Linked DNA regions of Homo sapiens: region 1 is linked to region 2. The links are contacts of gene promoters, found by promoter capture Hi-C in blood cells and fetal thymus (Javierre and others, 2016). All regions are on one chromosome and are shown on one strand. The core of a region is centred on a gene start or on the middle of the fragment in contact, and the rest is flanking DNA. Distances in the headings are between cores, read along the strand shown.

What was found. The method cuts DNA at HindIII sites, captures the fragments that hold promoters and counts their contacts. A CHiCAGO score of 5 or more calls a contact.
Region 1: the fragment with the promoter of BOK here is called in contact with the fragment with the promoter of MAB21L4 in region 2 in 5 of 17 cell types (M0 macrophages, naive CD8 T cells, total CD8 T cells and 2 more); the score reaches 6.6 in M0 macrophages.

The regions. Positions count from the first base shown.
Region 1 is chr2:241,556,361-241,560,479 of GRCh38, reverse strand. It overlaps BOK (BCL2 family apoptosis regulator BOK), which reads right to left and starts at 1,735. Exons shown (of 5, transcript NM_032515.5): 1 at 1,487-1,735; 2 at 777-1,025. The coding sequence starts at 996. BOK-AS1 (BOK antisense RNA 1) reads left to right here and starts at 1,337. Exons shown (of 2, transcript NR_033346.1): 1 at 1,337-1,703. RefSeq lists silencers at 713-842, 893-962, 993-1,072. The HindIII fragment of the contact is 1,718 bases long and covers 494-2,211 here.
Region 2 is chr2:240,894,193-240,898,125 of GRCh38, reverse strand. It overlaps MAB21L4 (mab-21 like 4), which reads left to right and starts at 1,970. Exons shown (of 5, transcript NM_001085437.3): 1 at 1,970-2,642. The coding sequence starts at 2,129. RefSeq lists enhancers at 799-1,434, 2,707-3,342. The HindIII fragment of the contact is 9,523 bases long and covers 1-3,933 here.

The sequences.
Region 1 (4,119 bases), core at 486-2,985, 660 kb before region 2:
CGGGGTCGTGCCCTCCGACTCCAACCCCCTGCCTGGAGAGCCACCGATTCAGTTTCACCTATGCTGTCACCTCCCCTTCCCGGGCTCAGCCACAGGCGCCCCATGTGCCCTCTTCGGGCATCACATAAACATTCCCAGGTGACGGCCACAGCCCAGCTGTGGTGAGGGGACTGGACAGTCACAGTGGGGCTGGTCCCTCCCTCTTGGGTCCAGACCTTGGAGACGGTGGGGGCAGCCAGTGGACCGTGTGTGACCCCAGAACCGAGCACCCCCAGATGTCCTCACAGCACCAACGAATACTGAGGTTTTGGCTACCCAGCCCGGTGGGCGCAGTTTCCAATGGGGGGGCCTCGGAGGCCTCGGAATCCAGAGGGCAGCGGGCGGGATCTCGGCCAGTAACAGCAAGAATCTGTTTTCCAAAATAAACATCGGGACACGTGCTCCTACAAAGGGTTTCTGTGCCCAGCTGAGAACAAGGGTCACTGTGGAAGCTTAGCCACCCACTAATAGATTATTCTTTCTGGAGCTTTCTATTGTTTATGGCCAGCATGACTGAAATCTGGGCTGAGCAGGCAGCTGATGGGGGGGCCTGTGGCGTGGGAGGCCTGAGAGGGCAGATCCGGGAGCACCCGCCTGGGTGGCCCTGTCCCGAGCGCCTGGCCGTCCCAGGCAGGGGGTGGGCGCCCCTGGGCCGGACCCCCATCTCGGCCTCGGAGGGAGGCTGCGGCCCAGCAGGGGAGGAGGCGCAGCTGGGGATCCCACCAGGGCGCACTCACCCAGGCGCAGCAGCACCGCGCACACCTCAGCCAGGCGTCCCGGGACCGGCGCGGCACGCTCGGGCGCGCTCCAGGAGAGGCCGGCGCGCAGCAGCCGCGCGTGCACGTACTCCCGGCCCAGCGCCTTGGCCTGGGCCACCAGCTCCTTGTCTGTGGGCGAGCGGTCAAAGGCGTCCATGATCTCGGCGGCGAAGACCGAGGAGCGCCGCAGCACCTCCATGGCGGCGACGCGGGTGGGGGGCGCCGCACCTGCGGGCACAAGCGCTCAGCCGGGTGGAGGGAGGCGGCGCGGGGAACGGGGCGCGCGGGGCGCCGGGCTGGGCGTGGCCCTCGGGAAGGGCCGTAGCCGGCGCCGGGTCCGCTCTCGTTTTTTGTGCCCCAAATCTTTAAAAACCCAGCGCCACCTTCTTTCAGAGCCCGAATTCAGCTACAGACATTCCCCGAGGCTGCCAGGGACCGGTGGGGCCGCGGGGAGACGGCGGTTTGCTCCGGGGCCGCCGGGCCCGCCCTCGAAGACGAGTGCGTGGGCGGCGGGGGCGGAGGGCACAGCCCAGCGCGTCCCCCACGGCGACTGCCAGGACCCGGCCCTCCCCGCCCCGGCCCGGGGCCGCCCACCTCCGCCGCTGGCGTCCTGCGCGCGTGTCCCCGGCCTCGCCGTTCCCGTGGCACCCCGGGCACCCCGGCACGGACGCCACGCCCGCCGCGCTCACCTCTCCCGCCGCATGGCGCGGGCGCCGGGGTGGAGTTCTGGCTTCAGGATCTGCTCGCCGCCGACGACGACCTCGACCCTTCCATTCAGACCCGCGAGGACGCGCGCCCCGCCCCGGCGCCCGCCCCGTCCACGCCCGAGCCGGGAGCGCCAGGTCCACGGGGCTTCCCGCGCTCTTGGGGGGCTCCTGCCGCGGCGTCGGGGGCCTGGGCAGCGAGGTGGGCAGCGCGCGACTCCCAGCTGGCGAGAGGCTGGGCTTGGGGCTTGGCCTTCTAAGGGAAAGGCAACCCTGGGGGCGGAGTCGGGGAGACGCTTTCCGAGCTTCCCCGCTTAAGGAGGACCGAGCGAGTTCCCTGGATGCGCCCGGAGAAGGCGACCAGGCCGGAGCGGCCCCCGCAAGGCAGAGCAGTGGGGACCTAGAGCCAGCCCCAGCCGCCTGGGTGTTCCCCGGGGTCCATTTGAAAATTGGGTTGTCTTCTTCGTTCGTAGAGGTTCTTTCCAGAGTCTGGAGACGTGTTCTTGGTCCGGACGCATGCCCTTTGTATTGTAGATGGATTATTGGATTCGCATTTATTGAAGTTATTGCAAATATCTTCCTCTATTTTGTGGTTTACTTTTGCTTTGGATGAACAGGAGTTACTCTTAGTGATGTCCAATTTATCAATATTTTCTTTATGGTTAGTACCTTTTTATTGGGATATCCTCCTGTATTTCCTTTTAGAAGCTTGTTTTAGGGCTCATATTTAGATCTATGATTGATTACATATTAATTATTGTGAATGGTGTGGTACGGGGCTAGAGCTCATTTTTTTTCGTGTAGATATCCAATTGACCTGGCATCATTTATTGAAAAGCATCATTTTTTTTCCACCGAATTGGAGGAGTCCCCAACATCTCAACATAAATCAGCTGAAGAGTGTGTGTGTGTGTGTGTGTGTGTCTCGGAACTCTATCCCACTGGTTTATTTCTTTATCCTTGAATCAACCTCACACAGTTTGAACAATAGGATTAACCAACTTGGCCTAATTCACGTGTGTACAACACTATAAAATACTTATTCTTCCCATGTGCACATAGGATGTTTATCGAAATAGACCATATCATGGACCTTATACAAGTCTCAGCAAATCTCAACGGATTGAAATCTTACAGTGTGTCCTCTCTGAATTAAAAGTCAATAACAGAAAAATTACTGGAAAATCTGCAAATGCTTGGAAATTACATGTCACACTTCTAAATAATCAATGGGTCAATAATCACAGTGGAAGATTAAAATATGTTGACAAGAACAGTGAAAAATAAGACATATCAAATGCTGTACAGTGCAACTAAAACACTGCTTAGAGGAAATTTGATAGCTTTAGAAGAAGGATTGAAAATTAGGCCAGGTGAAATGACTCAGACCTGTAATCCCAGCATTTTGGGAGGCCTAGGTGGGCAGATCACCTGAGCTCAGGAGTTTGAGACCAGCCGGGTCAAAATGGTGAAAACCCCGTCTCTACTAGAGATACAAAAAATGAGTTGGGTGTGGTGGCAGGTGTCTGTAATCCCAGCTACTAAGGAGGCTGAGGCAGGAGAATTGCTTGAACCTGGGAGGCGAAGGTTGCAGTGAGCAGAGATCATCCCACCTGCACTCCAGCCTGGACAACAGAGTGTGATTCCATCTCAAAAAAAAAAAAAAAAAAGGAAAAAGAAAAATAAAATTACTGCTCTAAGCTTCCACTCAAGAAGCTAGAAAAGAACAATAAAACTAAAGATGAAAGGAAATAATAAAAATAAGAGCAGAAATTAATGGAATAAAGCAAAAAATAGAGAAAATCAACAAAGCCAAAAATTGGTTCTTTGAAGAGATTAATAGAACTGATAAATCCCCAGAAAGATTGAGTAAGAAAAAAGATAACACAAATTTCACTATCAAGAATGAAAAAGAGGACATCACTGTAGATACTACAAGCATTAAAGGGATAAAAAGATAGTATGGAGGACTTTTTGACAGTGCATTTGAAATTTTAGATGATACACAACTTACCAAAACTGACACTAAAAGAAATAGAAAATCTGGATAGTCCTACACCAATTAAATGCATTGAATCTGTAATTTAAAATCTTCCCACAAAGAAAATTCTAGGTTCAGATGGTTTCATTGAGAAATTCTTCTCAACAGTTAAAAAAATACCACCAGTCTCATACAAACCTGCACAGAGACTAAAAATGAGGGAGTATTTCCCAACTCATTTTATGAGGTCAATGTAATTTTAATACCGAAACCTGTCAGGAACATTACCAGAAGCTAGGAAAGCTATGGAACTTCTATCTGCTATGACTTTCCTGTCTGGGAAGTAGGAAGAATAATAATACCTACCTCCTAGGATTGTTGAGAGGACTGAATTCTTTTTTTTTTTTTTTTTTTTTGAGACGGAGTCTCGCTCTGTTGCCAGGCTGGAGTGCAATGGCGTAAACTCGGCTCACTGCAACCCCGCCTCCTGGGCTCCAGCGATTCTCCTGCCTCAGCCTCCCGAGTAGCTGGGACTACAGGCACCTGACACCACGCCCGGCTAATTGTTTGTATTTTTGGTAGAGAGGGGGTTTCACCATGTTGGCCAGGATGGTCTCGATCTCTTGACCTCGTGATC
Region 2 (3,933 bases), core at 721-3,220:
CATTCACCACCTGCCAGAAGGGCCAAGGGGCAAGGATGGGGCCTGGCCCATCAGAGGCTCTGACCTCAGCTGGGGCACAGGTGGAGAGAGTGGGGTCCCTTGGGGCAACCAGCTGGATTCAGCTCAGGAACTGGTGGGAGCCAGGAGGCCAGAGCCAGCGAAGGACAGGACAGGGTGTCAGCCAGGTGGAATCCCCTGCTGAAGAGAGGAAAGGGGGGACATGGTCTTGTGCTCTTGGTGTTGACAGCAGTGGAGAGGGGGCTTTAGGGGCAAAGGAGGATGCAAAGCCTGGGGGCCGCTCCCGAGGGAGAAGGGCCCTGCTCTGTGGCCACTGGAGGGAGCAGCTTGGGGGCTGAGAAGCCGAGCCCCTCCCATGGCTCAGAGCCCCTGGGCACTTTGGGTAGATTGGGGTGTGGTTGGGGGTCTCCTGGGCGAATTCAGAACACCGGGAGGTTCCTGGGAAGGAGGAGCTGGGACACTGAAGGTGTCATCAAATCACAGATGTTGAAGCCAAGGCCCAGAACAGGCAGATGAGCTCCCTGGGCCACTGCGGCCGAGGGTGAGGGGTAGGACCCCAGCTGCCCTGCAGCAGCGTCCACCTCCCCCAGGCCAGAGTCCTGTGGAGATGGAGGAGTGTGGCACACGGCTGTGTGTGGGGACCTAGGCAGGCCGTGGGTGAGGGCCCAGGACAAATGGGGCCTTGAACCTGAATGGCTGCCCTCGGGGAGGGGGACACGTGCTCTAAGCAACTCCAGGGAACAGGAGTGGGCCAGCTTGGAGGAGGGATATCTGTCTCTCGCTTGACCGTGGGCTACCCTGTGAGGTGGTGAGCTCCCTGTCCTGGGAGGCATGGAAGCAGAGACCCGCTCACTGGGCTGCAGCCCCTCATAGGGGCTTCCAAGCACCAGGAAGTGAGTGGCTGTTGCCCCCTGCCCCACCCCTCCTGGGATCCTGGTTCTGCCCACAGCTCTGACTCAGATGCAGCTCCCCGGGGGGTGAGAGGCCCACGTGCGGTGGCTACAGGGGCAGCATCTCCACGACGCCCCTGTGGGGCCATCTCCATGTTCACTGTTTGCAGACACCCCTGTGGCTGAGCACCCGATGCACTCGGCCAGCTGGCAGGGCCAAGGGTCGATGGGGCGGCTCCCTGCTGGTTGGGACTTGCACGGCCCTGAGCAGGGGAGGGGGGCGGGGCTGGCAGGGTACCTGGTGCAGGTGCTGGAGGGGGATGGTGGGGCGAGTTTCTCCACCTGGGTGAGGTGGAGCCACGGAGACTGCTTTTCTCCAGAACCAGACGAGCTCCAGCTCCCAGGCTAGGTGGGTGCCAGCTCCTCTCAGGTTGGAGGCTGGGCAGGGTGGGGTGGGGTGGGGTGGGGACTGGTAGCCCAGGGGTCCAGGGCCCAGATGGCTGGATGCACAGCTGGGGCAGAGGCAGGAGCCATGCCAGGACTGCAGCCTGTAAGCCGGGCACAGGTGTCTGAGGGGAACATTGCAGAGACGCAGCCTCCAGGTTCCCAGCCTTCCAGGCAGCCTTAGAGAGTCGGGGGCTCCCCCACAGCGGGGTCTGGGCAGCCACCGCCCTGCCTCCCCTTCCTCACTGAGCCACGGGGTGCCTTGTGTTCCCTCCAACCTGGCAGGGAGGCTGGGGCAGGGGGGCCTGATCCAGATACCCGGCCCCTGGGCTGTGGGGAGGAGGGTGGAAGGAGGCCCATCAGCAACACACAGAGGCTCCCATCCCAGGGACGGCACAGTCCAGCGGCAATATTTCTCCAGGGACCCCAAGCCTGGCTGGGACAGGGGCCGTGCCTTGGGCCTAAGATGAGAGAGCTCTTCTGAAGGGAGGGAGGAGGGTGGTAACCAAACCCAGCCCCCGCCTGCCCTGCATGGCCCCTGTGACATTCCCAATTGCTGGGGACTGACTCACCCCCACTTCAAAGGCCTTAAATAGTTCAGCTATTTCACCTGCCACACTGTGCTGTCACTCTGGAATTCTGCTGTGTGGGAGCTGAGGCCCCACCTGCAGACCTGCTGCTCACCTGGGCAGGTGCCTCCTCACAGCCCATCTGCACAGCTGGCCTGCGGAGTCCTCCTCAGGGGCCACTGGCCCTCACCTGCCACTGTTGAAGGGATGCCTGCCCCTGCTCTCCCCACCTCAGCCATGGCCGTGCAGGTGCCCCTGTGGCACCACTACCTGCAGGCCATCCGGTCCCGGGAGGCGCCGCGTGCCCAGGACTTCCAGCGCGCAGAGAACGTGCTGCTCACGGTGCTGGAGCGCGTGCATGCCCTGGACCCCCGCTTCATCGTGGACTACTCCCGTGGCCTGGAGGCCTTCCAGTTCGCCCTGCGCTCCTCTGAGGACCCAATGGACATGGAGGTGCCCCTGTGGGTGGATGCCGAGGCTCTACTGATTGAGGAACCAGAGGCCACCCAGCCGGAGGATGGCCTTGAATTATGCCACCTGGGTGTGCCCAGGGAAGGGGCTGGCCTGGAGCGGTGGACCACCGAGGATACCTTCACTGCCTCCTCGGAGGGTGACGCCAAGTGCCGTGGACACATTGTGCCCAGCAAGGTCCTGTGTGTCCTCAAGGACCTGCTGGTAGCAGCCATCGTACACTGCAAGCACCACAGTCTCATCGCACCAGGTACAGGCACAGCCCACTCTGCACGCGTATCTGCGTGTACCGAGGGGCTGCTGTGTGGGTGTCTGTGTGCAAGTGTGTGAGTGCACATGTGTGTGATTGCCATGTACGTGCACACAGGGTGGCGACTGTCTTCTGTGTGTGACTGCACGCACAGGCATGTGTGCACGTGTGTGACACTGTGCAAGTGTGAACAGTGTGTTGGGGCACAGAAGTCGGGAGACCTCACTTAGGTCTTCCAGCTCCAAATGCCTGTAACAAGACAGATGACGTGTTCCGTGTCGTGTGTGTTTGCACGGGGGTTCCACGGCTGCCAGTCGTCCAGTGGCTGGAGTCTGGGGCAGCTGCTTCACTGGTGGCCTTGCAGGAGGGTCCCTCACACGGCTCTGGGCAGGCGGCTCTCTTGCCAGTCACAGCCTGTGACCTCGAGGCTCCCCGAGGCCATCCCGTGCCCACTTCCAGTGTCTGATGATGTTGCACCAGGTGGGAGGGGTGTGTGTGTGCCTGCCTGCGTGCGCGTGAGTGCAGGGGTGTGAATGCGTGTGCAGGTGTGTGCCCGTGTCTTATCAGCTTATGGCTGAGTTGTCTATTGGTGTCTTGAGCCCCAAGTGGGCTCTGAGGCTGGGCTTCTGCGTGGACCAGGGGCTGGCCTCAGTCTCTCCTCTGGGGCCTTTTGTTTGTTTGTTTGTGAGACTGAGTCTCACTCTGTCACCCAGGCTGGAGTGCAATGGCACGATCTTGGCTCACTCCGCCTCCTGGGTTCAAGCGATTCTCCTGCCTCAGAATCCTGAGTAGCTGGGATTACAGGCATGGGCTACCACGCCTAGCTAATTTTTGTATTTTTAGTAGAGACAGGGTTTCACCATGTTGGCCAGGCTGGTCTCGAACTTCTGACTTCAGATGATCCGCCCACCTGGGCCTCTCAAAGTGCTGGGATTACAGGTGTGAGCCACAGCACCAGGCCCACCTTTGGGGCCTTGTTGATATGGTCCAGGGTGAGTCTGAGCCCAGGGCTCCTTCAGCAGGGGCTGCCTGGACGGCGACGGTCGCTGGGAGGACAGGGCTCAGCCTGTGCAGGGGCCAGGATGATGGGGACCCTGAGTGGTACAGCCATCCTCCAGGGGGTCAGGTTGTCCTGGAAGGGAACTGGGGACTGGAACAGAATTTGTCACATGTGAGTCACCACAGTCCTCACAGGGCTTTGTTGCCTCGAGTCACCTCCCTAGTATTCATCTGACCCTCATGTCCTCCGTGAGGTCAGCGGGTGGGGTCAGCTCACCTTCGCGAGAGGCCA